Linked DNA regions of Homo sapiens: regions 2, 3, 4, 5, 6 and 7 are each linked to region 1. The links are contacts of gene promoters, found by promoter capture Hi-C in blood cells and fetal thymus (Javierre and others, 2016). All regions are on one chromosome and are shown on one strand. The core of a region is centred on a gene start or on the middle of the fragment in contact, and the rest is flanking DNA. Distances in the headings are between cores, read along the strand shown.

Region 1 (4,209 bases), core at 600-3,099:
GCAACAAGATAAAAGCAGCCCGAGCTGGCCTACATTTACATGAGAAGGAAATAAGACTCCATTTTGTTTAAGCTATTCTCTTGCATATATATATACACATATATATCAGCTAAGTGTAGCCATGTGACTAACTTGTGGCCAATGGGATGTCAGTATGAGTGGTAAGAGCAGTATCTTGTATATATATATGTGTATATATACACACACACATATATATACATATATGTATGCAAGAATATAAAATATACATGTGTGTGTGTATATATATACACACATATATATGTCCCTTGCAGCCAAGTCTAATTCTAACTAATACAAACTAACTCTAAAAAATGAATATATATTCACCAGGGGATAGGCTATTTCAAGCAGAGGGAAGCCTGTATAAAGGCTCAGGGAATGCCGTGGTTTTATGTGGCAGCAGATGAGACTGGAAATGAGTCAGGATGAGCCACAGTGGAGGATGAATTAAATGGGCAGGAGTGTGGTAGAAAGACCTGTTGGAGGCTATGAATGCAATCAAGGTGACAGACAACTGGTGCAATGATGGTAGTGGAAATGGAGGAGAGGGGATTGATTCAAGATGCATTTAGGACCAAGAATCGGGAGCTTGTGAACGTGTGTATGAGTACTGTAGACGGAGTGGGTGTGTCATCAGAGAAGATCTGAGCATTTGGGCTTGCTCTCCTCAGAGGCCCTGCGAGTGGAGTTCAGCTTTTCCTCATGGGGCAAATCTCACTTTCGCTCCAGTTCCTGGGGCTCAGAGTCCCTGGCCCAGATGCCTCTTGCCATCTCATCTTCACCCTGCCTGGCTTCCCTTGCTTGTTCCAGGATTGTTTCATAAAGAGGGATGTGGTTGGTCTTTAACCCTATGAATGCTGGCTGAGGATGCCTGCGGAACCTGTAGTGAAGCTTTCAGGGGCTGCTCGGGTTCTGGCTGGTAGGTGAACACTGTCCATCTTGCCGGCTGGGACACAGTGACTCTGGGTAGTTGTGTAAGAGAGGGGCCCTTGGCAGACAAACAGGTTCTTCTCTGTTGGTGGGCCAGCCAGCAGGTCAGTGGGAAGGTTAAAGGTCATGGGGTTTGGGAGAAACTGGGTGAGGAGTTCAGCCCCATCCCCCGTAAAGCTCCTGGGAAGCACTTCTCTACTGGGGCAGCCCCTGATACCAGGGCACTCATTAACCCTCTGGGTGCCAGGGAAAGGGCAGGAGGTGAGTGCTGGGAGGCAGCTGAGGTCAACTTCTTTTGAACTTCCACGTGGTATTTACTCAGAGCAATTGGTGCCAGAGGCTCAGGGCCCTGGAGTATAAAGCAGAATGTCTGCTCTCTGTGCCCAGACGTGAGCAGGTGAGCAGCTGGGGCAGAGGGATGGGGGTCACAGTCCTAAGGGAGGGCATTGCAGGTGGCCTCAGGGGAGAGCCTGGGGTGGCCCCTAAGACGTCCTCTTGGAACATTTTGGCAGAGTTGCCTCTTCGCCCTCATTATGGCTCAGTTTTTCCACCATGAAATGGGAGGGAGGGAGACAGGTGGGCAGGGGAGAGGTGGTAGAAGTGGCCTAGAGAACTGTTCCTGGGGTCTGGGACCTTTGCGAAGGGGTTAGAGCACCACGCTCCCTGCTATGTGACTGAGGTAGCAAGAGCACGCCCTCTTCCCATGTCTGAGGAAGACACCCTAGCCTCCTTGACTCACCTAGGTCAGTCCTCTTGAGCCCCAACAGCTCTGTGCTCCCCAGCCCAAGGAAGGGGTAACAGGATTTCGGGCAGTTGCCCCTGCAGAGGCCCCCTGGGCAAGTCCCCTGCGCCATGTCCCTTCGTCTCCTTCTTCCCCTAACCAGGCCTCCCTCCACCTGTCTTCTCAGAGCAGGTAATGGCAAGCATGGCTGCCGTGCTCACCTGGGCTCTGGCTCTTCTTTCAGGTGGGTCTCCGACCCTGACTTCAACGTGGGGGTGTGGGTGGAGGCTGGCCAGAGGGCCCTGTCCACCCTGGGGGAGGAGAGCCCAGGCCCTGATTACCTAGTCCCTCTCCACAGCGTTTTCGGCCACCCAGGCACGGAAAGGCTTCTGGGACTACTTCAGCCAGACCAGCGGGGACAAAGGCAGGGTGGAGCAGATCCATCAGCAGAAGATGGCTCGCGAGCCCGCGTGAGTGCCCAGGGGAAGGGGTGTAGGCGAAGGGAGGAGACAGCTGGGCCATGCCATGATGACCTGCCTCTGCTGCCTCAACCTCTGTGGCCGCTGCTGGGACAGAGGAAAGGAGCGGTGCTAGCTCTGTCTGCAGATCCCGGCCATCCTGGGCTCTTTAGCGCCCTCTGCCTGCAGCCCCCGCCTTGACAACTCCGTAGCTGTTGCCCCCTTGCTCACTGAGGCGCGGGACCTGGGATCAATCGGGAGGACGCCCGCTGCAGTCCCCAGAATCAAAGGATGATGTGGCGCATCTATGTTTCTTTGGAGAGTGTTGTAGGTCTGGATTTGTATGGGCAATGTGTTTGTGCTTCGTGCGTGAGTTGTTACTGGCCAGGGCTAGGACAAGAGCCCTCGACCCTGGGGCCAACGCCCTGCGTCCTTGGTTCCCCCAGAGGATCAGTGCGCGATGACTTGGGGACAAAGGAGATGATGGAGGCTAGCAGTCTGACGGCCTGGATATCTGTCCCCTTCTCCAGGACCCTGAAAGACAGCCTTGAGCAAGACCTCAACAATATGAACAAGTTCCTGGAAAAGCTGAGGCCTCTGAGTGGGAGCGAGGCTCCTCGGCTCCCACAGGACCCGGTGGGCATGCGGCGGCAGCTGCAGGAGGAGTTGGAGGAGGTGAAGGCTCGCCTCCAGCCCTACATGGCAGAGGCGCACGAGCTGGTGGGCTGGAATTTGGAGGGCTTGCGGCAGCAACTGAAGCCCTACACGATGGATCTGATGGAGCAGGTGGCCCTGCGCGTGCAGGAGCTGCAGGAGCAGTTGCGCGTGGTGGGGGAAGACACCAAGGCCCAGTTGCTGGGGGGCGTGGACGAGGCTTGGGCTTTGCTGCAGGGACTGCAGAGCCGCGTGGTGCACCACACCGGCCGCTTCAAAGAGCTCTTCCACCCATACGCCGAGAGCCTGGTGAGCGGCATCGGGCGCCACGTGCAGGAGCTGCACCGCAGTGTGGCTCCGCACGCCCCCGCCAGCCCCGCGCGCCTCAGTCGCTGCGTGCAGGTGCTCTCCCGGAAGCTCACGCTCAAGGCCAAGGCCCTGCACGCACGCATCCAGCAGAACCTGGACCAGCTGCGCGAAGAGCTCAGCAGAGCCTTTGCAGGCACTGGGACTGAGGAAGGGGCCGGCCCGGACCCCCAGATGCTCTCCGAGGAGGTGCGCCAGCGACTTCAGGCTTTCCGCCAGGACACCTACCTGCAGATAGCTGCCTTCACTCGCGCCATCGACCAGGAGACTGAGGAGGTCCAGCAGCAGCTGGCGCCACCTCCACCAGGCCACAGTGCCTTCGCCCCAGAGTTTCAACAAACAGACAGTGGCAAGGTTCTGAGCAAGCTGCAGGCCCGTCTGGATGACCTGTGGGAAGACATCACTCACAGCCTTCATGACCAGGGCCACAGCCATCTGGGGGACCCCTGAGGATCTACCTGCCCAGGCCCATTCCCAGCTCCTTGTCTGGGGAGCCTTGGCTCTGAGCCTCTAGCATGGTTCAGTCCTTGAAAGTGGCCTGTTGGGTGGAGGGTGGAAGGTCCTGTGCAGGACAGGGAGGCCACCAAAGGGGCTGCTGTCTCCTGCACATCCAGCCTCCTGCGACTCCCCAATCTGGATGCATTACATTCACCAGGCTTTGCAAACCCAGCCTCCCAGTGCTCATTTGGGAATGCTCATGAGTTACTCCATTCAAGGGTGAGGGAGTAGGGAGGGAGAGGCACCATGCATGTGGGTGATTATCTGCAAGCCTGTTTGCCGTGATGCTGGAAGCCTGTGCCACTACATCCTGGAGTTTGGCTCTAGTCACTTCTGGCTGCCTGGTGGCCACTGCTACAGCTGGTCCACAGAGAGGAGCACTTGTCTCCCCAGGGCTGCCATGGCAGCTATCAGGGGAATAGAAGGGAGAAAGAGAATATCATGGGGAGAACATGTGATGGTGTGTGAATATCCCTGCTGGCTCTGATGCTGGTGGGTACGAAAGGTGTGGGCTGTGATAGGAGAGGGCAGAGCCCATGTTTCCTGACATAGCTCTACACC
Region 2 (3,779 bases), core at 1,195-3,694, 300 kb before region 1:
GAATTGATTGGTCAGTTTCACTTCCTCTGGAGGGCCCTCTTCAGCCTTTTTGTCCGTTTTTATCACAGGGCCTCCAGTCTGCAGGTCAGAGCTGAATGAGATACCAAAGTCCAGGGCTCCCTCAGACCCTGAGGGGAAGTCAGGGGAAGTCGATTGAGCCAAGACTTTGGTGTGCTCCTCACTTGCCACCCCAGCCCCTCACCGTGTTTCCAGTCTAGTTGACTATTAGCCAAGGCAAACTTACATTTACAAACAATATGCCTTGTTCCTTGTTTTGCTATTTCTTTCCTTTTTTTCTGCCTATTTTCTGTGTAATCACTTTGTGCTCCTGTGGTTATTTTGCTCTGACCTCTGGGGGATAGTCTCCATGAACTTAATTGGTTGCCTGGTTTATGGTTTCATGATTTAAAGAATTTTGAATCTTCCAGCCCTTGGATACACCAAAATATTGATAAAATCTGTTACAGACAGGGTTGAATGTTTTCGTAAATGTAATTGCAAACAGTTGATTCTTGGCTTTAATATAAAAGAGACATTTCTATCTTCAGTAGTCAGCAAAGCCAGTGCCTAATTATGGCTGGTCTGCCCGCTTTCTAATTTTCATGTGTGTGTATATGTGCGTGCGTGTGTTTTTCATAGTTTTTCTCTGAGACCTTGGTATCCTTTAGGACTGCAGCATTTTAAACACTGGCTTGTTTACAAACGGGTGTCACTGTTTATGTTGGTTTTTATCTTTGATCATTTGTGGTATGCAGTTGTGCAATTCCTATGTATGGAAATATTCAAAGTCTTGAATGAGACTGAAATGGCTTGGACAATGAGTTGCATGTGTGAAGGAGCCACACCAGCATTCATTTGTGTTTCTGTAGCAGTGTGCAATTTCCTAGTTACAGTTACAAGTGCTATATCTTTTGCTGCTTAAATTACTCTGACTACATGAGTGAAGCTTAATTCACAAGGAGTTGTCACGTGCTCTGGGTGAACTAGGAGCATATTTTGGCCTGCTCCATGCTTCTCTGAATCCACTTTGGAAGGGGTTCTCAAATGCGGACAGCTTAGATGTGCCTAACAGCTGTCGACATACAGTACGATGGCCTATTAAGGTTATGGTTTGGTTATATAACAATGGTGAAGGTGCATAGGTACTAGAAGTTGCCGAAGCTGCTGCTTCAGTTAACTCAGGTTGATTTTTTTTCTCCCCATGCACTGCAGCCTTTATCTTACTTCTGCAGAGGGGTCATTTGGAAACAGAGAGTTATTTTTTTCCCCCATCTGTCTCCAGAATGTGTCATTTGTTGTTTTGTCTTTTAGAGGTGTGTGATTTTTTTTTCCCCTTGTAGGAAATGGTCTGGGTTTTCTTATAACCATATATAACAGTCAGACAGAGGTAATTCAGATGATACTTGTGTTGGCTGAAGGAGGTTAGGTAATAGGTATTTTCTGAACATTAGAAATAATTATGATCCCCCTCCTTTTTTTTTTTTTTTTTTTTTTTAAACACACATGACCCATTCCAAGAACTAAGAGACTAAAGTAAACCTCATTTATTGAGTAGGATACTGCACTCCATCCAATACTGCGTGGTTAAGCTGGCCCTTTCCCAAATTCTGTTAACTCTCAAACCGTCTAGAGTGGGATCCTGGGATGAATAAAATCAGTAGAGAAAAGTGAAGCTTTTCCTATTTGGTTGTTGGTTACTTTTGCAGCACGGCATTCATGAGCTCAGACTTCATATTGGCAGCACTGCAGTGCTTAGAGCGGCACTGCAGAACAGTTACCAGGAGAGAATGTTCAGCTGTGACATACTTTGGTTAGTAGCTCACCCTGGCTGTCTTTGTCCTACCTGCTTTGATTTCCTTTTCTTTGGAAGAGCCTTACTTAGCCTGAGGTTCTCTGGCTCTGTTTTTTTTTTTGGTAGGAAACTATAAAGTATTACAGATATTTTTAAAAAAGAATGTTTTCTGCTCTCAAATTGCAGGTAGTCTGTTGCCTGTGCCTAATTATACCTTCACTAGTTGGATGATTGGGAACAAAGAGTAGATAGATTTTGTATGCATTTTTTTTCCTTTTTTAAAATATTGGGGCAGGGTCTTACTCTGTCACCCAGGCTAGAGTGCAGTGACACTGCCAGAGTTCACTGTAACCTCCAACTCCCAGGCTCAAGAGATCCTCCTGCCTCAGCTTCCTAAGTAGCTGGGACTACAGGCTTATACCACCACACCAGGTTAATTTTTAAATTTTTTTTGTAGAGATGGGGGTCTCATTATGTTGCCCAGGCTGGTCTTGAACTTCTGGACTCAAGTGATCCTCCTGCTTCAGCCTCCCAAAGTGCTGGGATTACAGGCATGAGTCTGTAACCCAAATGCTTGGCCCATATGCATTTTTTAAAGTATGCATGACTATAAAAGCCTTTGGCCAAATACGTTTAAACTATATTTCAACAAATATATATCACTTGCCTGTTATTGGTTTGTGGTAAGAGTTCCAGCTTTGGATAAAGCAACCTGAGTTTGAATCTTTTGCTGCTTAATAGTTGGATATTTTTAGGCTGTGAGAAGTTATTTAACTTCTGTGTGCTTGGGTTTCCTCATCTGTAAAGTGGGATGACAGTAGTACTTACCTCACAAGTTTAGGTGTTATGAAGATTAAAGAAGATAGTGTATGTAAAGCTCTTAGAGCAGCATGGTGCCCTAATAGCATGACGTAAATATTACCATCATCATCATCGTTATCAGATGTTTTAGTAACATAATAATATTATGGACATAATAATAGTCCTCCTTTTTTTGCTTCTCACCCCTTGGGCACGATTCATGAATGTATATGCCATTAGTTTTGTGTAGGTAGATGCCATCCTGACGATAGACTTTCCTGGTAAAAAAAAAGTTTGCTACTATTGCAGGTGCCACTTTGAGATAGTTGGATTTAATTTGTATAGGGTACAGGCTGGCTAATCTCATGAAATCAGCATTTTAAAACATAAATTTTCATTAGTTAAACTTTTTTTTTTTTTTTTAAATAGCAATGTGACTTATCTAATGAAAACTGTGACCAACACTGGCTTTTGCTTTGGGCTGCCTTGAATTTTCAGTGTGTTTTGTGTAACTAATTTTTGTTATGTTGATGATGGAACAGAGTTGAGTGCAGTCTTTTCTCCAGAGGTCCACTTAAATTAGGTTTAAGTGAAATATTTAAGAAATGTTTCTGCAAGCTTAAGGACACATTTGCCCTTGCGTGCACAAGCAAAGGCCTTAGACGGCCAAGGTCAGAATTCTTAACTTTAAATATTACACAGAGAAGACATTTTGCCCTATGACCCCTTTCCAAATATTGACTAGCCAGACACATCGGTGTGGTTTAGTGCAAACTCATTTCCATGAGGAGAACAAGTCAAAGTGGGCTAAAAGCATTATTTTCACCTCTAAAGAAGAGTTTAACGAAGCACATGAGATGATGCTTTCACCCATTAGAAAACTGAAAACAAGATTCATTTGGTAAGTAGGAGAGAATTATGTCAAAAAGAAATTGAAAGCAGAATTTACATTAGATACATTTGAGGAAGATAGCCCCATCCCTAGACAATCTAGAAGTGACTATTGAAAGATGATTATGTTCAGTTTGATACAGTGGTGATGGGGTTGCTAAACGTTTTTGAAATTTTGTAAAGAGCTAAGACTGATTGAGACTAGTCTCTCCAGAGTCAAAATACCAGTATTCCATTTTCTACATCAAAGATGTTTATTTTAACATTTTGACTTTGGTGCCAGCTCCCTAGAAAG
Region 3 (3,709 bases), core at 1,112-3,611, 360 kb before region 1:
AGCTCAGGAGTTCAAGACCAGCCTGGGCAACATGGCAAAACCCCATCTCTAATTAAACAAACAAACAAACTATATATATATATATATTCATTTATTTATTTAAAAAAGAAAACAAAACACTTCCTCTCTTAGGGTGACAGGATTAGGGACAGCTTTTTCCTTGCTTCCATATTTTGTGCAAACACGTATTTTAAAAATTACTATTGTTTCAGTAAATATTTTTAAACTGAGGAGATATGAGAAAGAATAAAAGTTTAGTGAATAGGTGCTTTTTCCTATCATGTCAACTCCCTATTGCAGGTACTGTAGTACCAACTACCTTTCTTTTTTTTTTTCTTTTTTGAGATTTTGAGACAGGGTTTCACTCTGTCACCCAGACTACTGGAGTACAGTGGCAGCTATGAGGGGCAGCTCACTGCAGCCCCAACCTCCCAGGCTCAGGCTGGGGAGGGCTTACGTGATCCTCCCTGCCTCAGCCTCAGGCGCATTTCACCATATCCGGCTTTTATTTTTGGCATTTTTTGTAAAGATGGGGTTTTGCTATGTTTCCCAGGCTGGTCTGGAACTCAAGCGATCCACTCACCTCTGCCTCCCAAGGTGCTGAGAGATCACAGGCCTGAGCCACCGTGCCCGGCCCCAACTACCTTTCAACACCAATAAAATAGCTTGCATTTGTAGAGTCGTGGAATTTAAGACTGCTATGCTAAAGGTTCTAGTACTTTTCTCCTAAAGTGTAATAGTTGTAATAAATTTGGAAAAATAGAAAGGACCAAAACAACACATCTATAATCCTACCACCTTAACCTAGTAACTATGACCATGCTTGAGTGTTTTCTCCTCATCTTTTTTCATGTCCTCTGTTACCCCTTTTACATAGTTTAAGCATCATGGACACCTCTTTCTGGCACTATATGTCTGGGGCCAGAAAAACCAACATTCAAATTCTAGCTTACCTACTTTCCAGTCCAGTGATCTTAAGAAAGTACATAATTTGTGTCTTGGTTTTAACATCTGCTGGCAACTCCATTTTAGAGTTGTTAAAGAGTCCCAGCTATTGACTGGCACCCACTAGGTACTTGATAAATGGTAGCCGTTATAGTTGCACTTAACATCATACTAGAACCATTTTTCTATGTAGCAATGCAGTTTTTATAATCATAACTTTTAATGGCCATATATTCTTTTCTAGAGACAGGGTCTTGCTCCGTCACCGAGGGTGGAGTGCAGTGCATGATCACAGCTTACTACAGTCTCAAACTCCCAGACTCAAGCAATCCTCCTGCCTTGGCCCCCCAGTAGCTGGGACTACAGGCACACACCACCATGCCCAGTGAATTTTTTTTTCTATTTTTTGTTGAATCAGGGTCTTGGTGTGTTTCCTAGGCTGCACTTCTGGCCTCAAACAATCTACTGGCCTCAGCCTCCCAAAGTGCTGGGACTACAGGTATGAGCCACTACACATAATATACTCTACTGAATGCACTCAACGACACATTTTTGTTTGCTATTTTGGGGGGTGAGGGGAATGAGGGTCTATGTTGCCGAGGCTGGTCTTGAACTCCTGTGCTTAAGCAATCCTCTTGCCTCAGCCTCCCAGGTCACACTCTTCTTCCTGTGGACAGACTTGCCAGTGGCCTCTTTTTGTGAATCTAGTAAGTGTGATAAAGGGATATATATATATATAATTTTTCCTACACTGGAAATTCTTAGTCAAAATAAATCAGTATTTTTATGGATTTTGGACATATTTCCAAATTCTCAACAAAAGGGCTATATGCTAATCTGTAAGGACTCCAGCAATATATTAGAACTGGTTTTACTGTACTTGAACCTGAATTAGATATTAACGTTTCTCTTTCTTTCTCTTCCTAATGTTTTAATTTACACTTTTTGGAAACAAAGTTACACTTCCTATCATGTCTACTGAAATACTTATATATTAGTTCCTTTAGGATATTTTTATTGATAATATAAGGTATCTATGCTTCATCTATAATATTTACTGCGTTTATTTTCCTTAGTCTGCTGCTGAGCCTTATTTTTCTGGTTAATATGTTTTGATACGATTTCTATTCTATTTGGCAAGTCTTTCAACACTACCCTTAAGAAAACCTTTTAGGCCAGGGATGTGGTGGCTCACGCCTGTAATCCCAGCATTTTGGGAGGCTAAGGTGCGTGGATCACCTGAGGTCAGGAGTTCAAGACCGGCTTGACCAACACGGGGAAACCTCGTCTCTACTAAAAAAACACAAAAATTAGCCGGGCATGGAGGTGGGTGCCTGTAATCCCAGCTATTCAGGAGGTAGAAGTTGCAGCGAGCCAAGATCACACCACTGCACTTCAGCCTGGGTAACACAGTGAGACTCCATCTCAAAAACAAAAACAAAACAAAACCTTTTTATTACGCAAAATATCAAATGTATACAAAAGCCGAGAGAATAACATCTCCATTCAGAGAGAATAAACCTCCATGTATCAATTACCAGCTACAGCAATCATTTATGGCCTGCATTATTTCAGTCATACTCCCAACTACTGCCCCACTCCATCCCCAGACTATTTTGAAGCAAACTGAGGATATATCATTCCAAGTATAAATATTTCAGTATGCAATGCTTAAAAGATTTTTAAAGTCAGGCACGGTGGCTCATGCCTGTAATCCCAACACTTTGGGAGGCTGAGGCAGGAGGATCACTTGAGGCCGAGAGTTCAAGATCATCAGCCTGGGCAATATAGTGAGACCCTATCTCCACAAAAAATAATAAAAAAAATTAGCCCGGCATGGTGGCATGCACCTGTGGTCCCAGCTACTTGAGAAGCGGTGGTGGATCACTTAAGCCCGGGAAGCCAAGGCTGCAGTAATGGTGCAAGCTGTAATGGTGCAAGCTGTAATGGTGCCACTGCACTCCAGCATGCTTGACAGAGCAAGATTCTGTCTCCAAAAAAATTTTTAAAATATTTGTGTTTTTCTTCCATTTGACTGATTTTTCTACAGCCAGAGCTCATTGAAGCCTATTAACTTAAGACAAGAATAATGAAGATATCTAGTTTAGTTACTACTTTTCTTTTCTTTTCCTTTCCTTCGTCTTGAACTCCTGGGCTCAAGCGATTCACCTGCCTCAGCTTCCCAAAGTGCTGAGATTACAGGTGTGAGTCACTACTCCTGGCCTAGTTACTATTCATAAAGGTATAAATGATCCAGATGTCCATGAAAGAAAAAATGGGCAAATCAACTGTGGTATACTTCTTTTTTTTCTTTTTGAGATAAGGTCTCAATCTGTCACCCAGGCTGGAGTGCAGTGGCACAATTATAGTTCATTGTAGCCTTAATATCCTGGGCTCAAGTGATCCTCCCGCCTTGACTTCCCAACCTGCCCTGGCCTCCTAACGTGCTGGGATTACAGGCATGAGCCACTGTATACTGCCCTGTCTTAAAAAAAAAAAAAGAAAAGAAAAAAATATTGGGACAACTGGAGAAATCTGAATATGGTCTTTGGATTAAGTAATAATAGTATTATATCAATATTACATCTCATGATTTTAATAACTATCCTATAGTTATTTAAGAAAAGTCCTTGTTTTTAAGAAAACATGCTGAAATATTCAGGGATAAGGGAAATGAGTGCAAATGCTTCAGAAAAACCCACTACGTTAGTATATACATATAGAAATAGATATAGACACAGCAGGGCATGGTGGCTCACGCCTG
Region 4 (3,992 bases), core at 692-3,191, 320 kb before region 1:
ACAGGCACATGCCACCATGCCTGGCTAATTTTTTGCATTTTTGGTGGAGACGGGGTTTCTCCATGTTGCCCAGGCTGGTCTTAAACTCCTGGGCTCAAGCTATCCACCCGCCTTGGCCTCCTGAAGTACTGGGATTACAGGCAAGAGCCACTGCGCCCGGCCAACTTCATCTATTTTTCTTGCCTAATTGCCCTTTCTAAAACCTCCAGGACCATGTTGAATACAACTGGCAAGAGCGGGCACACAAGTTTTGTTGTTGTTGTTGTTGCTGTTGTTTCTTGAGATGGAGTCTCACTCTGTCACCCAGGCTGGAGTGCAGTGGTGCAATCTCAACTCACTGCAACCTCCGCCTCCTGGGTTCAAGTGATTATCTGCCTCAGCCTCCCAAGTAGCTGGAATTATAGGCACCTGCCCCCATGCCTGGCTAATTTTTGTATTTTTAATAAAGATGGGGTTTCACCATATTGGCCAGGCTGGTTTTGAACTCCTGACCTTGTGATCCATCTGCCTCGGCCTCCCAAAGTGCTGGGATTACAGGCGTGAGCCACCATGCCCGGCCCAGACACTTTTTAAGAGGCCTGCACTCCAGCCTGGGTGACAGAGCGAGACTCCGTCTCAAAAAAAAAAAAAAAAAAAAAAAAAGGCTTTATTTTACCTAGACCTGTTAGAAAGGATCTAATAAACAATGGCAGAGAAAAAAATAAAGCTTCCTACCTGTCTTGGGGACAGAAAGAGATTCAACTACCTTTTTGGGGAAATTATTATTATTTTGAGACAGAGTCTCCCTCTGTCACTCAGGCTGGAGTGCAATGGCATAATCTTGGCTCACCACAACCTCTGTCTCCTGAGTTAGTTATTCTCCCATCTCAGCCTCCCGAGTAGCTGGGATTACAGGCACGCGCCACCATGCCCAGCTAATTTTTTAATTTTTAGTAGAGACGTGGTTTCACCATATGGGTGAGGCTGGTCTCTAACTCCTGACCTCAGGTGATCCACCTGCCTCAGGCTCCCAATGTGCTGGGATTACAGGCGTGAGCCACCTCGCCCAGCCAGGGAAATTATTTTTAGCTTTTATGCAGCTTAAGTGTCTTCTTTTTTTTTTTTTTTTTTGAGACGGAGTCTCACACTATGGCCCAGGCTGGAGTGCAGTGGCACGATCTCGGCTCATTGCAAGCTCCGCCTCCCGGGTTCATGCCATTCTCCTGCCTCAGCCTCCCAAGTACCTGGGACTACAGGCACCTGCCACCACGCCCGGGTAATTTTTTGTATTTTTAGTAGAGACAGGGCTTCACCGTGTTAGCCAGAGTGGTCTCGATCTCCTGACCTCGTGATCCGCCTGTCTCAGCCTCCCAAAGTGCTGGGATTACAGACGTGAGCCACCGCGCCCAACCCTTTTTTTTTTTTTGAGACAGGTTTTTTTCAATATTAGGTTCATTGACACACATGGCATATGTCTTCTTTTAGGTTTTTCAGTGATGTTTTGTATTCTCCATAAAACTTTTACATTTATATAATTTTTTTTTCAGGCACAATGTTATGTGCTGGATATAGAGTTGTGAACTAAACAGATATGGTTCCTGACTCTGGGGATTGCAGTCTAGTTAGACTGACAGCCATACACGAAATGCAAGTTCCACTTAAAAATGCTACAATAGGCCGGGCGTGGTGGGCTGACGCCTGTAATCCCAGCACTTTGTGAGGCAGAGGTGGGCGCATCACCTGAGGTCGGGAGTTTGAGGCCAGCCTGACCAACACGGAGAAACCCCGTCTCTACTAAAAATACAAAATTAGCCGGGCATGGTGGCACACACCTGTAATCCCAGCTACTCGGGAGGCTGAGGCAGGAGAATCACTTGAATCTGGGAGGTGGAGGTTGCGGTTAGCCAAGATTGCACCATTGCACTCCAGCCTGGGCAACAAGAGTGAAACTTCATCTCAAAAAAAAAAAGCTACAGTAGATTAATAATTATAATAATTGTAGTCATTTTACAGAGCACCAATTTTGTACCAAGCACTATTTTAAGTACTTCATATATAGTAATTTATTTAATCCTTCCAACATTCCTATGATATAGGTTTTATTATTATTATTTTTGAGATGGAGTCTCGCTCTGTTGCCCAGGCTAGAATGCAATGGCACAATCTTGGTTCACTATGCCTCCGCCTCCCAGGTTCAAATGATTCTCCTGCCTCAGCCTCCCAAGTAGCTGGGATTACAGACTCCAGCCACCACCCCCAGCTAATTTTTGTATTTTTAGTAGAGACGGGGTTTCACCATGTTGGCTAGGCTGACTTCGAACTCCTGACCTCAAGTGATCCACCCACCTCTGCCTCCCACAAGTGCTGGGATACAGGCATGAGCCACGGCGCCTGGACAGGTTTTATTATTTTATCTATTTTGCAGTTGAAGAACAGAGGCCTGGAGTGGTTATTTTCTCAAGATCACACAGCTAATAAGTTATGGAGCCAGGATTTGAACCCAGGGACTTCATCTCCAAAGCCTGTGTTTTTTTTTTGAGACAGAGTCTCACTCTGTCACCCAGGCTGGAGTGCAGTGGTGTGATCTCAGTTCACTGCAACCTCTGCCTCCCGGTTTCAAGTGATTCTCCTGCCTCAGCCTCCCGAGTAGCTGGGATTACAGGCATGCACTGCCACGCCTGGCTATTTTTTTTGTACTTTAGTAGAGACGAGGTATCACCATATTGTCCAGGCTAGTCTCGAACTCCTGAGCTCAGGCAATCCTCTATGTTCTGAATGGGCAAAATGTTTGGAGACCCAGAAACATTTTTACGGATTGTAAAAATCCTGAGTTTAGCTGTACCTTAAAGGAGTAGTGGATTTTTTTTTTTTTTTTTTTTGAGACAAAGTCTCACTCTGTCGCCCAGGCTGGAGTGCAGTGGTGCGATCTTGGCTCACTGCAACCTCTGCCTCCCGGGTTCAAGCGAGTCTCCTGCCTTAGCTCCTGAGTAGCTGGGATTACAGGCAGGTGCCAGCACGCCCGGCTAATATGTATTTTTAGTAGAGACGGGGTTTCACCATGTTGGTCAGGCTGGTCTCGAACTCCTGATCTCGTGATCCACCTGCCTCAGCCTCCCAAAGTACTGGGATTACACGCATGAGCCACCGTGCCTGGCCAAGGAGTAGTAGAATTTTAAATAACAGATGGAAAAGCTTCCAAGGTATTCCAAATACAAGGAAAAGCTGAGTAGAAGTTAAGGAGTAAGCACACAACCTGCAGTCGTCCTGGGTGGGGAAAGGTGGGTGGGAAAGTAAATGAAACGTGACAGGCTGAAAAAGTAGGTTGAGGCCAGGTTGCAAAGGAGTTTGAATACCCTGCTCTGAGAGTTTAAATTCTACCAAACAATGAATCCATAAATACCTGGTGTTTGGAAGTTATTTATTATACTTTAAGTTCCAGGGTACATGTGCACAACGTGCAGGTTTGTTACATATGTACACATGTGCCATGTTGGTGTGCTGCACCCATTAACTCGTCATTTACATTAGGTATATCTCCTAATGCTATCCCTCCCCACTCCCCCTACCCCATGACAGGCCCCAGTGTGTGATGTTCCCCTTCCTGTGTCCAAGTGTTCTCATTGTTCAATTCCCACCTGTGAGTGAGAACATGTGGTGTTTGGTTTTTTGTCCTTGCAATAGTTTGCTGAGAATGATGGTTCCAGCTTCATCCATGTCCCTACAAAAGACATGAATTCATCCTTTTTTATGGCTGTATAGTATTCCATGGTGTATATGTGCCACATTTTCTTAATCCAGTCTATCATTGATGGACATTTGGGTTGGTTCCAAGTCTTTGCTATTGTGAATAGTGCCACACTAAATATACGTGTGCATGTATCTTTATAGCAGCATGATTTATAATCCTTTGGGTATATACCCAGTAATGGGATGGCTGGGTCAAATGGTATTTCTAGTTCTAGATCCTTGAGGAATCACCACACTGTCTTCCACATGGTTGCACTAGTTTACAG
Region 5 (3,735 bases), core at 1,138-3,637, 490 kb before region 1:
ACTGTATAAATATAGAGTTTTAGAAATCTTGAACCCGCGCTTCCTGTTCACATCAGTTTCTCTTCTTCTTCCTCCCCAGTCAGGTCCGTCATTTAAGAGTTGGACAAAAGGGACAAGTGTCATTTGTGTTGGTCTGGGCCCAGAATTTGATACACTGGAAAGAAAGAAAGACACACCTCAGGTTTATCTGGAAAAACAAAGGGAAGGAAGGAGAGAATGCCAATAAGGTTCAACAAGGCCTAAGTCAGAAAAGTTCTTACACTGAGGTACAAGAGGGGCTTTTTTTGTTGCTGTTCTTTTTTCTTTTTTTGAGACCCAGTCTCACTCTATTGCCCAGGCTGGCGTGCAGTGGTGTGATCTCAGCTCACTGGAACCTCTGCTTCCTGGGTTCAAGCTATTCTCCTGCCTCAGCCTCCCGAGTAGCTGGGATTACAGGCGTTCACCACCGTTCCTGGCTAATTTTTGTATTTTTAGTAGGGATGGGGTTTCACTTTGTTGGCCAGGCTGGTCTCGAACTCCTGGCCTCAAGTGATCTGCCTGCCTCAGCCTCCCAAAGTGCTGGGATTACAGGTGTGAGCCACCGCGCCTGGCCCCAAGAAGGGCTATTCAATGGCTCTTACCCTAAAAGAATCCTCAGTGCAAGTGAACCTGTCCTTTTTATGAGGAACATTAACAATGAGCTGTTGAAAATGTTCATGATGCTGCTTTTTGTTGAATGTCTAGTGTGGCTTGCTCCCCCTTAGGATCCATTTTGCCTGAGATGAGCATCTCTGTTCTAAGACCTGACACCCTCAAATCTTATTCAGGAATTTTTCTTACCAAGAATTTAGATGTAAATTCAGTTTCTACCTCTTGGAAAAGCAAAATGAACAAAACAAAATGTTGTTAAGAGGGAATCATCCCTGCTACTAAGAGACTTAACTCTGCTGGCAACATAAAAAAATAGGAATGACTTGTCAGTCTGTGAAGATAATCTCTAACCGGCAAGCCCTCCAAGCTGTTCTGTTAATGGAGTTACTAATCTCATACTCAGGTCCTCCATTCCATTCCTCTCATCTAGGCAAAGTCTTCTGACAATGCTACATTTTGAACAATAGTTAGATATGTGGGATTATCACTCATTGTCAATTTTCCAAGAAAGTTATTTAGTGCGCAGTATGAATTGCTTATCCAGTCCCCTGAAGGGAATGGGGTAAAAAGCTGAGAGATCCTAACTGCAGTATTCTGAATTCTGCTAATGTTTAAGCCACAATTTACTGAAAACCTTATGATTAGACATTAGAGACCAGGTGCACTGGCTCACGCATGTAATCCCAGCACTTTGGGAGGCTGAGGCAGGAGGATCACCTGAGCCCAGGAGTTTGGGACCAGCCTGGGCAACATAACAAGACCTTCTCTCTACTAAAAAAGAAAAAAAAAATTAGCTGGGCATGATGGCATGTGCCTGTAATCTCAGCTACTCAAGAGACTGAAGCACCTTGAGCCTAGGGGATTGAGGCTATAGTGAGCTATAATCGTGCCACTGCATTCCAGTCTGGGCAACAGAAAGAAACCCTATCTCAAAAAACAAAACAAAAAAAAGGCTGGGCACGGTGGCTCACGCCTGTACTCCCAACACTTTGGGAGGCTGAGATGGGCGGATCACAAGGTCAGGAGTTCGAGACCAGCCTGGCCAATATGGTGAAACCCTGTCTCTACTAAAAATACAAAAATTAGCCAGGCATGTTGGCAGGCGCCTGTAGTCCCAGCTACTCAGGAGGCTGAGGCAGGAGAATCACTTGAACCTGAGAGGTGGAGGTTGCGGTGAGCTGAGATCACACCACTGCACTCCAGCCTGGGCAACAGAGCGAGACTCTGTCTAAAACAAAACAAAACAAAACAAAAAAGATATTAATGATGAGCACCAACACAGTAAAAGAAAAGTTATTTTAGCTGTCAGGGAAAAAAAAGAGTAGAAAATGAGAAAGAAAAATTATTTTAGCTGTCAGAAGAAAAAGTGTAGAAAATGAGGAAGGTCTGTAACACCTACCTCCTTGTGCAATACATGGGTACACGCCATTGGATGCAGCTCACTGGGCTGGACGAGTTTCTGGCACATTAGACATAGCTTACAGGTGGCTGGAGCCTGTAGAACAGAGGCGGCATGATCAAAAGGTAAGGAACCTCTGGGTCTCCTTGCCTTTTATGCCCATAATTCCATGCAGCAAAAAGATTTATATCAAAAGAAACAAAAATCCAAATATAGATTCTTGCCTAAAATATTTGCATTTTCCCAGTAGGGCTGCAAATAACCCAACTGATGGTTTCTTCCTGCACTCCACCTGTAAACCCACTCCTTCCTCACCTCCAGCTTCTCCATATCACAGTGTTCAAAGAAAAAGAGTCTTACATGTGAAGACCTTCCAGGATATGAAACTTGGGCAGAAGGCAAGAACATTGGGGTACTGATTTGGGCCAGTGGAGCAGGGAACAAGGCCCGGATGCGACCAAGTGGCTGTAGGTAGAAACATTGTCAGAGTAAGGGAAGAGAGTCTGAGTAACAGAGCATATCACAAAAATCACTTATTTCCCAGTCCAGGAAAGGAAAAAAGCAGACTAGCTACCTCTGACTGGAATGCTTCTTCCCACCCCACATTTTTCTGAAATCTACCTCTTCCCCAGCCCTCAACATGCCTAAGTTCTCTCCCAAGTGGCTTTTCTCACCTGAGTACTTGCTGCCACCCGCTCATGTTCTGCCAGTCGTGCAGCAACCAACTGGATAAGTTCCTCCATGGTCAGGCCTGCCATGGTGGTACGTGCTGTCTTGATCTGCTGAAGAATGTTGGTCATCTGGGCCCTGAGGAAAAAAAATGTTGAGGGAGAGAAAGCCTATGCTATACCCACGGGGAACACCCATGTAACCTCCTCTGTTTTAACCCATAAGCATTTCTCTGATAGAGACATCTGAATCAGTCCTTGAAGGTACTTACTTATTGCACTGTGGGAACCGGGTCAGCAGCTTCTCCAGGATCTTCTCCAGTTTGTCTACTGGTTGGGGCCGGGGAGTTTCAGCAGAAGCCTTAACACCGCCCAAGCCTGGGGGAGGTGGGATGGAGGCGGCAGGGGGCATGTGTGGACCGTGGGGGCTGACAAGGGAACCCAAGCCAGGGCTATTTCTGCCATGGGAGCCAGGAAGGGGTGAGGAAGGCTGGCTGGGCTGGGAAAGGGCAGGGTTCAGGATTGGGAAAGACAAGGAGCGGGGATCTGCACTGGGCATAACCATGGGCATTGTGACCTGCCCAATGGAGAAGGGCATCCGAGGAGCCAGAGAGGGACTGGGTTGAAACACCTGAAGCATGAAGTCTGTCTGCAGAGGAGAAGAGGTAGAGGACGAGAGAGAAAGGAAGAAAAAGAAAGTTTAGGAAACTGGAGAAGACATCAATGAACAACTCTTGCACTGAATAGGGATGGTCCCAATATCTTCATAAAAAGAACACGCAGAAGACTCTGCTGCTGCTACCAACACAGAAAGGTGAACTTCCCCCCAAAGCCACTCTCTTACCTCTGATGGGGGTGGAGGTAAAGTGGGAGTAGGGATTTGAGGAAGGCTGCTCAGCTTGGCTCCGTTCCTCACTAACTGGATATGACTATTAAATTGGTCCTAAAAAAAAAAAGGATTATTTTTACTGCTGAACTGACTCAGGCTCTCTAGAAAGACAGCACCATCCATTATCAGGAAAACAAAAGGAATAGTAG
Region 6 (4,139 bases), core at 572-3,071, 260 kb before region 1:
GTTGCAGAGACTGTTCTTAGCACTTACACATAGGAAGTTTTTTGGTTTTCATAGCAACCCTATGAGTTGTATAGGTGGGTAAATAAGTAGGACCTAGAATTATCTGCATCTTATAGATGAGGAAACTGAAGTGAGGAATGTTAAGTCACTTGTCCAAAGTCACACAGCCATTTGGTAGCAGAGTTGGAATTTGAACCCGGGCAGACCCCAGTGCCCACGTTCTAAACTGCTGTGCTCTACTGTAATGGTGAGTATAACTGTGTAATGTTTTTTGTTAATGCCTACCTTTGTTGGTAGGCTCTAAGCTCCTCGAGGTCAGAAATCATACCTGTCTGGTTAATTTCCATGGCCTAGGACGGAGCCTGGCATGGAGTAGTCTGTGACCGAGTACTTGTTCCTATTGAATGAATCACAGCTTGCCAGTCTACTAAATTGAGGAAATAGAGGGTTTCAGTGTGATCCTTTTCACTTTTCCTCCCCACTGCTTCCAAATATTAAACTCCCTTGGTTAAAAGAATAGGTGCCTGTACTTATTTCAAAATCTAACCCCTCTACCTGTTTGCCTTGTATATTCTAGGAGTAATTTATGTACTTCGTAAGAAAAATTAGTGCAGATGTACATAAAGTAAAGGTATACGTCTTCCATTTTTTCCTCCTTTAACGTTTTATACTTCCAGGTGTCAACTGCTAGTAGTTAAATCTTCTTCTGTACATGTACACATTTTGTGGACACTTAAAATACACAAGGGTAATGTATGTAGTATTATCTAAGTTTTTTAAAAATTTAATTTTGATATTGAACGATAGTTTCACAAGATGTCTCCATTGAGGGAAACAAGGTAAAGGGTACAGGAGATCTCTGTTGTTTCTTACAACTGCCTGTGACTCTACAATTATCTCTAAAGAAATGGTTAATTAAAAAATAAACTATAGAAATATTTTCATGTCAGCGTATTGACCTGTTTCTTTTAAATGGCTATGTAAAATGTTATTATATAGATGTGTATTACTTTATTTCACGTTTCCCCTATTGATGGACTTTTAAGTTCCTTCCATTTTTCATTTTCACCAATATTGCCAAAGGTGGACCATCCTTGAATTTGTAGGTATATCCTTGGTTGGTATATATGCACAGCCAAGTTTTAGAAGAGGAGATCAAAAGATGGGCATATTTGAAATGTTGGTAAGAGTTGGCCAGACCATCCTCCAGACAAGTTTATACTTTCGTTAGCAGGTGAGATAGAAGCTCTGTGTGTTCACCTGCACTGTCCTGATCCCATTCTGCCACTTCTTCTTGGGGACTTTATATCTATATCTATATCTATATCTATATCTATATCTATATCTATATCTATATCTATATCTATCTATATATTTTTATTATACTTTAAGTTCTAGGGCACATGTGCACAATGTGCAGGTTTGTTACATATGTATACATGTGCCATGTTGGTGTGCTGCACTCATTAACTCATCATTTACATAAGGTATATCTCCTAATGCTATCCCTCCCCACTCCCTCCACCTCACAACAGGCCCCAGTGTGTGATGTTCCCCTTCCTGTGTCCGAGTGTTCTCATTGTTCAGTTCCCACCTATGAGTGAGAACATGCGGTGTTTGATTTTTTGTCCCTGCGATAGTTTGCTGAGAATGATGGTTTCCAGTTTCATCCATGTCCCTACAAAGGACATGAACTCATCCTTTTTTATGGCTAAATAGTATTCCATGGTGTATATGTGCCACATTTTCTTAATCCAGGGACTTTGTTTTATTAACTAATCCTTTTCCATTTAATATATCTACTTCCCTGTTGGTTCTCTTCTGTCTCCTCATCCTGTAGCACATCCTCCAAACTGATAGAGCTTTGGTTGCTGTCAGTTCTTTTGTGCTGCTATAGGAGAATACCTGACACTGGGTAATTTATAAATAACAGAATTTTATTTTCTCATAGTTCTGGAGGCTGGGAGGGCACTGGCAGGTTCATTGATGGGGATTTGGTCTCTGCTTCTTAGACGATGCCTTGAATGCTGTGTCCTCACATGGCAGAAGGCAGAAGGGCAAAAAGGGAGTAACTCCCTCCATCAAGCCCATTTTTAAGGGCACCTAATTGCATTCATGAACGGAGGAACCCTCATGACTTAATGATGTCTTAAAGGCCCGACTTCTTAATACCATCACGTTGGCAACATCTGACTTTTAGAGGCGGAGACATTCAAACTGTGGCCCTAGCCAAGTCCTTTGTGTGCTTTTACTTATCTTTACAACCATCCTATGAGATAGTGCCTGTTTCTCTGCCTACTTGTTAAGCGATTATATTCTTCTGGATTTTGTCCTTGGCTCCTCTATCCAACCCACCTGTAGCCCCACCTTCTCTTCTGTTCCCTCATCCAAACCAGAGAGACCAGGATTTGAATCTGGCTCCATTATTTTCTCCCTAAGAGACACGGAATGATTTACTTTGTCTCTATGTTTCTGTTTCTTTCTCTGTAAGTAAGAGTGGGGAGACTAGAGCTACCTATCTCAGGATTGTGTGGAGTAAATGAATAATGTGTGTAAAACATTTAAAATAGTGTCTCATGTACACTAAGTGCTTAATAAATGCTAATAATAGGAATAGTAACAACAGTATAGTTACATTGTTATTATAAATCTGTATCTGTGGTACTCTTAGCTTAAGTTCGTACAAAAATATTGAGCTGCCTGTTAGAAATCTACATTTGGATGCCTCCCCAGATATCTTAAACTCAGTTTATCTAAAGTCAGAGTCTTTCTGTGGCTTCAGTGCTTAGTGACTGTGTCCGTGAATAAACTACTTATTTTCTTTAAGCCTCCATTTCTCCATTTATGAAAGGGTGATAATGAACTTATTTTATCAATATTAAATGAGATAATTCTTGTAAAAGTATTTAGCATAGTGCTGGTATATACTAATATCTTAATAAATATTAGTTGCTATTATTATTATTCCTTTTAAATGCTGATCCCCTTTTTGTCCTGTTCTGCCCAGAAAAAGAGCCTCAGGATAGCTTTGCCTGTCTGCCTGTCTTCCTTATCCTTCATATGCAACCAGTCAGCAAGTACTGTTATTTTGTATTTTCATTTTAAACATCTTAATTTTTATTTATTTTAAAATTATTTATAGAGATGGGGTCTCACTATGTTGTCTAAGCTGGTCTTGAATTCTTGGGCTCCAGTGATCCTCCCACCTCTGCCAAAGTGCTGGGATTACAGGTGTGAACCACCACACCTGGCCTATCAAGTACTGTTGATTGTGCTTCCGAAACATGTGCTTGCATCCAACCACTCCTTATCATTTCTTGACACAATTATTGTGGTAATCTCCTAATTGCTCTCCTGGCCTCTTGGCCATCTTGTACCTTTCATCCTGAGTTATCTTTATAGTAGGTAGATCTGCTCATATCACTCAGCAGAAAGGCCTCTGATGGGTCTCTCTTACCTGAAATATAAAGCCTCCAAGGCCCACTACACCACAGTCATCTTTAGAGCCTCCCCTCTTGTTCTGGGACCCATGGGTCCTACAGTATATGCAGACTACTGACTGTTCTGTGACTGCACCCTGTACTCTAAATCTCATACCTTTGTCCCTGACCTGCTGTTGCTGTACCTGCCTTCTTTTTGCTTAGAGGGTTGTCCCCTCAAGCACTCCCTGCTAATAAGCACTCAGCCTTCCACCCCAAACATCTAGTCTGTCTGGTGAATTCCTGGTGATTCTTCAGTGGTCTGTCTCAAATATATCTTCTACGCTCTTTTCTCTTTAGTCTTAACTGCCATCCAAGGCAACATTAGTTAGTCCCTCATTATAAGAGGCAATATAAGCTGGTGAGAGGTATATACCCACAGTCCTAGCTACTTGGGAGTCTGAAGCAGGAGGATTGCTTGAGGCCAGCCTGGGCAGCATAGCAAGACCTTGTCTCTTTGAAAAAAATAGAAAGAAAATGCTGGGTGTGGTGGCTCACATCTGTAATCCCAGCACTTTGGAAGGCCAAGTAGGGAGGATTGCTTGAGCTCAGGAGTTCGAGACCAGCCTGGGCAATACAGCAAGACCCCATCTCTACAAAAACTAAAAAAATTAGCTGGGCATGGTGGCACATGCCTGTGGTTTCAGCTACTCTGGATGC
Region 7 (4,105 bases), core at 1,118-3,617, 450 kb before region 1:
GGTATCGTTCTGTCACTCAGGCTGGAGTGCAGTGGCACAATTTCGGCTCACTGCAACCTCTGCCTCCTGGGTTTAAGCGATCCTCCCACCTCAGCCTCCCATGTAGCTGGGACCACAGGTGCACACCACCACGCCCGGCTCATTTTTTGTATTTTTGGTAAAGATGGGATTTTGCCATGTTGCCCAGGCTGGTTCGAACTCCTGGACCCAACTGATCCACCCGCCTCAACCTCTCAAAGTGTTGGGATTACAGGTGTGAGCCACCACACCCCGCCTTGCCTTTTTATTTCAATTAACTCAAAAATAAAATTAAAGTTTGAGCCGGGCATGGATGGCTCAAACTTTAATTTTATTTTTGAGTTAACTGAAATAAAAAGGCCTCCTTTCGGAGGCCAAGGCGGGTGGATTTCTTGAGTCTGGAGTTCAAGACCAGCCTGGGCAACATGACAAAACCCCGTCTCTACCAAAAATACAAAAAATGAGCCAGGCATAGTGGCACACACCTGTGTTCCCAGCTACTTGGGAGGCTGAGGTGGGAAGATCACTTAAGCCCAGGAGACAGAGGCTGCAGTGAGCCAAGATTATGCTACCACATTCCAGCCTGAGTGACAGAGTGAGACTCTGTCTCAAAAATAAATAAATAAATAAATAAAGTTTTTTAAAAAATTAAAGTTTGATCAGAGACTGTTGCTTAACTCATTGACAATTTCAATATAAGCAAAATACCTGGTGATTCTTCATTTCCTCTTCTCTCCTTTGCTGAAGCTGCTTTAATTGCACTTGGAGCTGATTCTCCACTTGCCTCTGTTTGTCCAGGACCTCCTGGTAACGCTCTTTCAACAGGGTTCTCTCTGTCATCATTTTATCCTATTATGAACAAGACAAGAAAAGCTTATTTCCTAATTTAATCACAAGAAACATTCACCAGTGCCTGTCCAAGGCATTGTATAGAGCTCTATGACCGCACTATCCAATAATGAAGCTACTCTACTAGCCATATGTGGCTATATTCAGTAAAATATGATGAGATTGGCTGGGGATGGTGGCTCACACCTATAACTGTAGTACTTTGGGAGGCTGAGGCGGGCGGATCACTTGCATTCAGGGATTCGAGACCAGCTTGGGCAACATGGCAAAACCTGGACTCTAAAAAAATACAAAAATTAGCTGGGCATGCCAGTACTCCACTGTAGTCCCAGCTACTTGGGAGGCTGAGGTGGGATGATCGCTTGAGCCTGGGAGGCAGAGGTTACAGTGAGCTGAGATCGTGCCACTGCACTTTAGCCTAGGCGACAGAGCAAGACTCTGTCTCAAAAAAGCGTCCGGGAACATGATTCCTTACTGGTTAACAACACTGAAAACTGATGGATCCACTAAAGAGGCCTGGGAACCTGGTATTCAGACTGAACAACTCAGCAAGCTTTCATATAAAGTCGGGATTAGAAGAGAGACTCCTAGGCAAGGCACGGTGGCTCCAGCCTATAATCTCAGCTTTGAGGGGCCAAGGCAGGAAGACTGCTTGAGGCCAGAAGCTGAAGACCAGCCTGGGCAACATAGTAATACCTGGTCTCTACCAAAAAATAACAATAATAAATAAATAAATAGAAGTGCTTCTGAAAACAGTTTAGCTCTGCCACCCCCATGTCAGTAAATCAAGAAAATCAATGGTTACCTTTCAAAGGGACACTAAAATTTGAAGAGGGTCAACTTAAAACACATTTAGTATGAAGTAGCCCATATAATATTTAAACTGAGAGCACTAAACTGAATTTTTTCATTAAATAATAACCATTTTCAAAGAAAAAAAATTTTTAAAACAAATGAGGAAAATATCCTATTATAATCATTTTAACAAAAGGCTCTCAAGGCTGGGCGCAGTGGCTCACGCCTGTAATCCCAGCACTTTGGGAAGCTGAGGCGGGTGGATCACTTGAGGTCAGCAGTTCGAGACCAGCCTGGCCAACACAGTGCAATCCCATCTCTACTAAAAATACAAAATTAGCCAGGCATGGTGGCACATGCCTGTAATCCCAGCTACTTGGGAGGCTGAGGCAGGAGAATCACTTGAACCTGGTAGGCAGAGGTTGCAGTGAGCAGAGACTGTGCCCCTGCAGTCCAGACTGGGTGACAGAGCGAGACTCCGTCTCAAAATAAATAAATAAATTAATTAATTAATTAATAAAAAAGGCTCTCAAGATAGGACCTTGGCTTTGGGACAAGCTAATCTTTAGTCCATGTACTGAAATGTGACTAATGTGTCCCAAACAGCTGATTACTCAGCATCACACCTTTCCAGGGATTCTGAACCTGGCTTCTACAGGTGGACCCCGGAATCTTTGAACTCTCTGCAACTGATGAATGTATATATTTTTCTGAGATAAGAATTCAAAGTTTCCAAAAGATTCTGAAAGAGGATCTTAACCAAAGAAAAGTTGAAACCAGTAGATTATTCTTTTCTGAGACAGAGTCTCACTCTGTCGCCCAGGCTAGAGTGCAGTGGTGCAATCTCGGCTTACGGCAACCTCCGCCTCCCGAGTTCAAGCAATTCTCTCTGCCTCAGCCTCCAGAGTAGTTGGGATTACAGGCACCCGCCACCACGTTCGGCTAATTTTTGTATTTTTAGGAGAGATGGGGTTTTGCCATGTTGGCCAGGCTGGTCTTGAACTCCTGACTTCAGGTGATACCCCTGCCTTGGCCTCTCAAAGTGCTGAGATTACAGGTGTGAGCCACTGCACCCGGCCTCACTGCCTTTTTAAAAGCATGTGGACCTCACTACCACCCAAAAGATAGAGCCAAACAAAACTCAACCCTGGGCCTCTTCTGGCCCAGTAACTTGCTGGGTTTCCATTCGTTCCTGTTTCATCTACTTGACTGTTACAATTAAGTCCCAAGTTGCTAGTCTCTATTTTAAAACTTTTCTTGGCTTCATCTGGTTAATGTACACCAGTAACTTTTTTCCGTATGCCCTTCAATTTCTTCAACTTGCACCAAATATCCACTCTCTTATCTGGTTGCTACAAGCACTTTCCCTTTTTATACCACTCTTTATAAATTAACATATCTTACCCTAAAGACCTCTTCCTGGGGTGCCTTTCCCAGCATTACCTTCCCTTTAAAAAGTGTACATTTAGATATCCATATACTTAAAGGTGGAAGTTTTAGCCACAAAAGGCCAGGGATGGATCAAAGGGAGCATTTTAACAAAGGTAAGTGTGACGTTCTCTTCAAAAGCCAACTATCTGGGGATAAAATTAAAAAGACACAAGTAAATAATACATGAAAAAAAGACTGGATGGAATTTGACTAAAAGCTTAACAGTATGAAAAAACTGCCAAAATAAGTCAATGTAAGCTTAAGAAATAGTGTCTAGAATGAGAGATACTGAGAGATCCCACTGTATTATAAAGTAATTATACTGTATCTGTACTATTATATATGGTTCTCAAGATCACTTTTTAAAACAAATATTGATAAAATAGAACATGTCTAAGTGAAAGTAACCAGAATGATGATAAAGAAATGGAAAATAGTATCAAAATAGTATCAAAAAGAATACTAAAAACATCTGAGGATGTTTCACCTGGAAAGGTTTGAACTTGGGGAGTAAGAGAATAAGAGCAGGAGGCATAAAAAAACTTCAAATATACACATGGCTAACAAGCAGGAAAGGAACTGGATTTATTCCATAAAGCTCAAGAGAAAGCTACAATAAGAACTTTTTTTTTTTTTTTTTGAGACAGATTCTCACTCTGTCACCAGGCTGGAGTGCAGTGGTGCAATCTCAGCTTACTGCAACCTCTACCTCCCGGGTTCAAGCAATTCTCCTGCCTCACCCTCCTGAGTAGCTAGGACTAGAGGCATGCGCCACCACACCCAGCTAATTTTTGTATTTTTAGTAGAGATGGGGTTTCACCATATTGGCCAGGATGGGCTCAATCTCTTGACCTCGTGATCTACCCGCCTCGGCCTCCCAAAGTGCTAGGATTACAAGCATGAGCCACTGTGCCCGGCCTAAAGCAAGAAGCTCACTGCCACCTCAGCCTCCTGGGTTCAAGCAATTCTTCTACCTCAACCTCCCAAGTAGCTGGGATTACAGGCTAATTTT

Evidence for each region. Contacts are between HindIII fragments. The CHiCAGO score rates a contact against its expected background, and 5 or more counts as called.
Region 2: a fragment that was not itself captured here is called in contact with the fragment with the promoter of APOA5 in region 1 in 16 of 17 cell types (fetal thymus, erythroblasts, non-activated CD4 T cells and 13 more); the score reaches 15.6 in fetal thymus.
Region 3: a fragment that was not itself captured here is called in contact with the fragment with the promoter of APOA5 in region 1 in 15 of 17 cell types (neutrophils, naive CD8 T cells, activated CD4 T cells and 12 more); the score reaches 16.9 in neutrophils.
Region 4: a fragment that was not itself captured here is called in contact with the fragment with the promoter of APOA5 in region 1 in 17 of 17 cell types (naive CD8 T cells, total CD8 T cells, activated CD4 T cells and 14 more); the score reaches 18.6 in naive CD8 T cells.
Region 5: a fragment that was not itself captured here is called in contact with the fragment with the promoter of APOA5 in region 1 in 2 of 17 cell types (non-activated CD4 T cells and erythroblasts); the score reaches 6.9 in non-activated CD4 T cells.
Region 6: a contact is called between a fragment that was not itself captured here and the fragment with the promoter of APOA5 in region 1, in 13 of 17 cell types (naive CD8 T cells, neutrophils, total CD4 T cells and 10 more). The highest score is 12.0, in naive CD8 T cells.
Region 7: a contact is called between a fragment that was not itself captured here and the fragment with the promoter of APOA5 in region 1, in 15 of 17 cell types (naive B cells, total B cells, naive CD8 T cells and 12 more). The highest score is 14.2, in naive B cells.

What each region holds. Positions count from the first base shown.
Region 1 is chr11:116,789,519-116,793,727 of GRCh38, reverse strand. APOA5 (apolipoprotein A5) reads left to right here and starts at 1,849. Exons shown (of 3, transcript NM_001371904.1): 1 at 1,849-1,916; 2 at 2,031-2,142; 3 at 2,661-4,209. The coding sequence starts at 1,868. The coding sequence ends at 3,600. The HindIII fragment of the contact is 6,000 bases long and covers 915-4,209 here.
Region 2 is chr11:117,092,909-117,096,687 of GRCh38, reverse strand. All of the region lies in intron 1 of SIK3 (SIK family kinase 3), which reads left to right. Among named protein-coding and RNA genes, the nearest start is that of SIK3, 3.6 kb to the left of the region's middle. The HindIII fragment of the contact is 1,538 bases long and covers 1,676-3,213 here.
Region 3 is chr11:117,153,666-117,157,374 of GRCh38, reverse strand. All of the region lies in intron 2 of PAFAH1B2 (platelet activating factor acetylhydrolase 1b catalytic subunit 2), which reads right to left. Among named protein-coding and RNA genes, the nearest start is that of PAFAH1B2, 11 kb to the right of the region's middle. The HindIII fragment of the contact is 8,620 bases long and covers 1-3,709 here.
Region 4 is chr11:117,112,877-117,116,868 of GRCh38, reverse strand. No RefSeq gene overlaps it. Among named protein-coding and RNA genes, the nearest start is that of SIK3, 16 kb to the right of the region's middle. The HindIII fragment of the contact is 2,465 bases long and covers 709-3,173 here.
Region 5 is chr11:117,281,505-117,285,239 of GRCh38, reverse strand. RNF214 (ring finger protein 214) reads right to left here. Exons shown (of 15, transcript NM_207343.4): 10 at 3,542-3,640; 11 at 2,970-3,346; 12 at 2,704-2,836; 13 at 2,390-2,494; 14 at 2,030-2,125; 15 at 1-154. The coding sequence ends at 89. Among named protein-coding and RNA genes, the nearest start is that of BACE1, 33 kb to the left of the region's middle. The HindIII fragment of the contact is 5,984 bases long and covers 1-3,735 here.
Region 6 is chr11:117,053,765-117,057,903 of GRCh38, reverse strand. The region is part of intron 1 of SIK3 (SIK family kinase 3); the gene reads left to right. Among named protein-coding and RNA genes, the nearest start is that of SIK3, 43 kb to the left of the region's middle. The HindIII fragment of the contact is 6,637 bases long and covers 1-4,139 here.
Region 7 is chr11:117,241,207-117,245,311 of GRCh38, reverse strand. It overlaps RNF214 (ring finger protein 214), which reads right to left. Exons shown (of 15, transcript NM_207343.4): 5 at 727-867. Among named protein-coding and RNA genes, the nearest start is that of RNF214, 11 kb to the right of the region's middle. The HindIII fragment of the contact is 1,890 bases long and covers 1,423-3,312 here.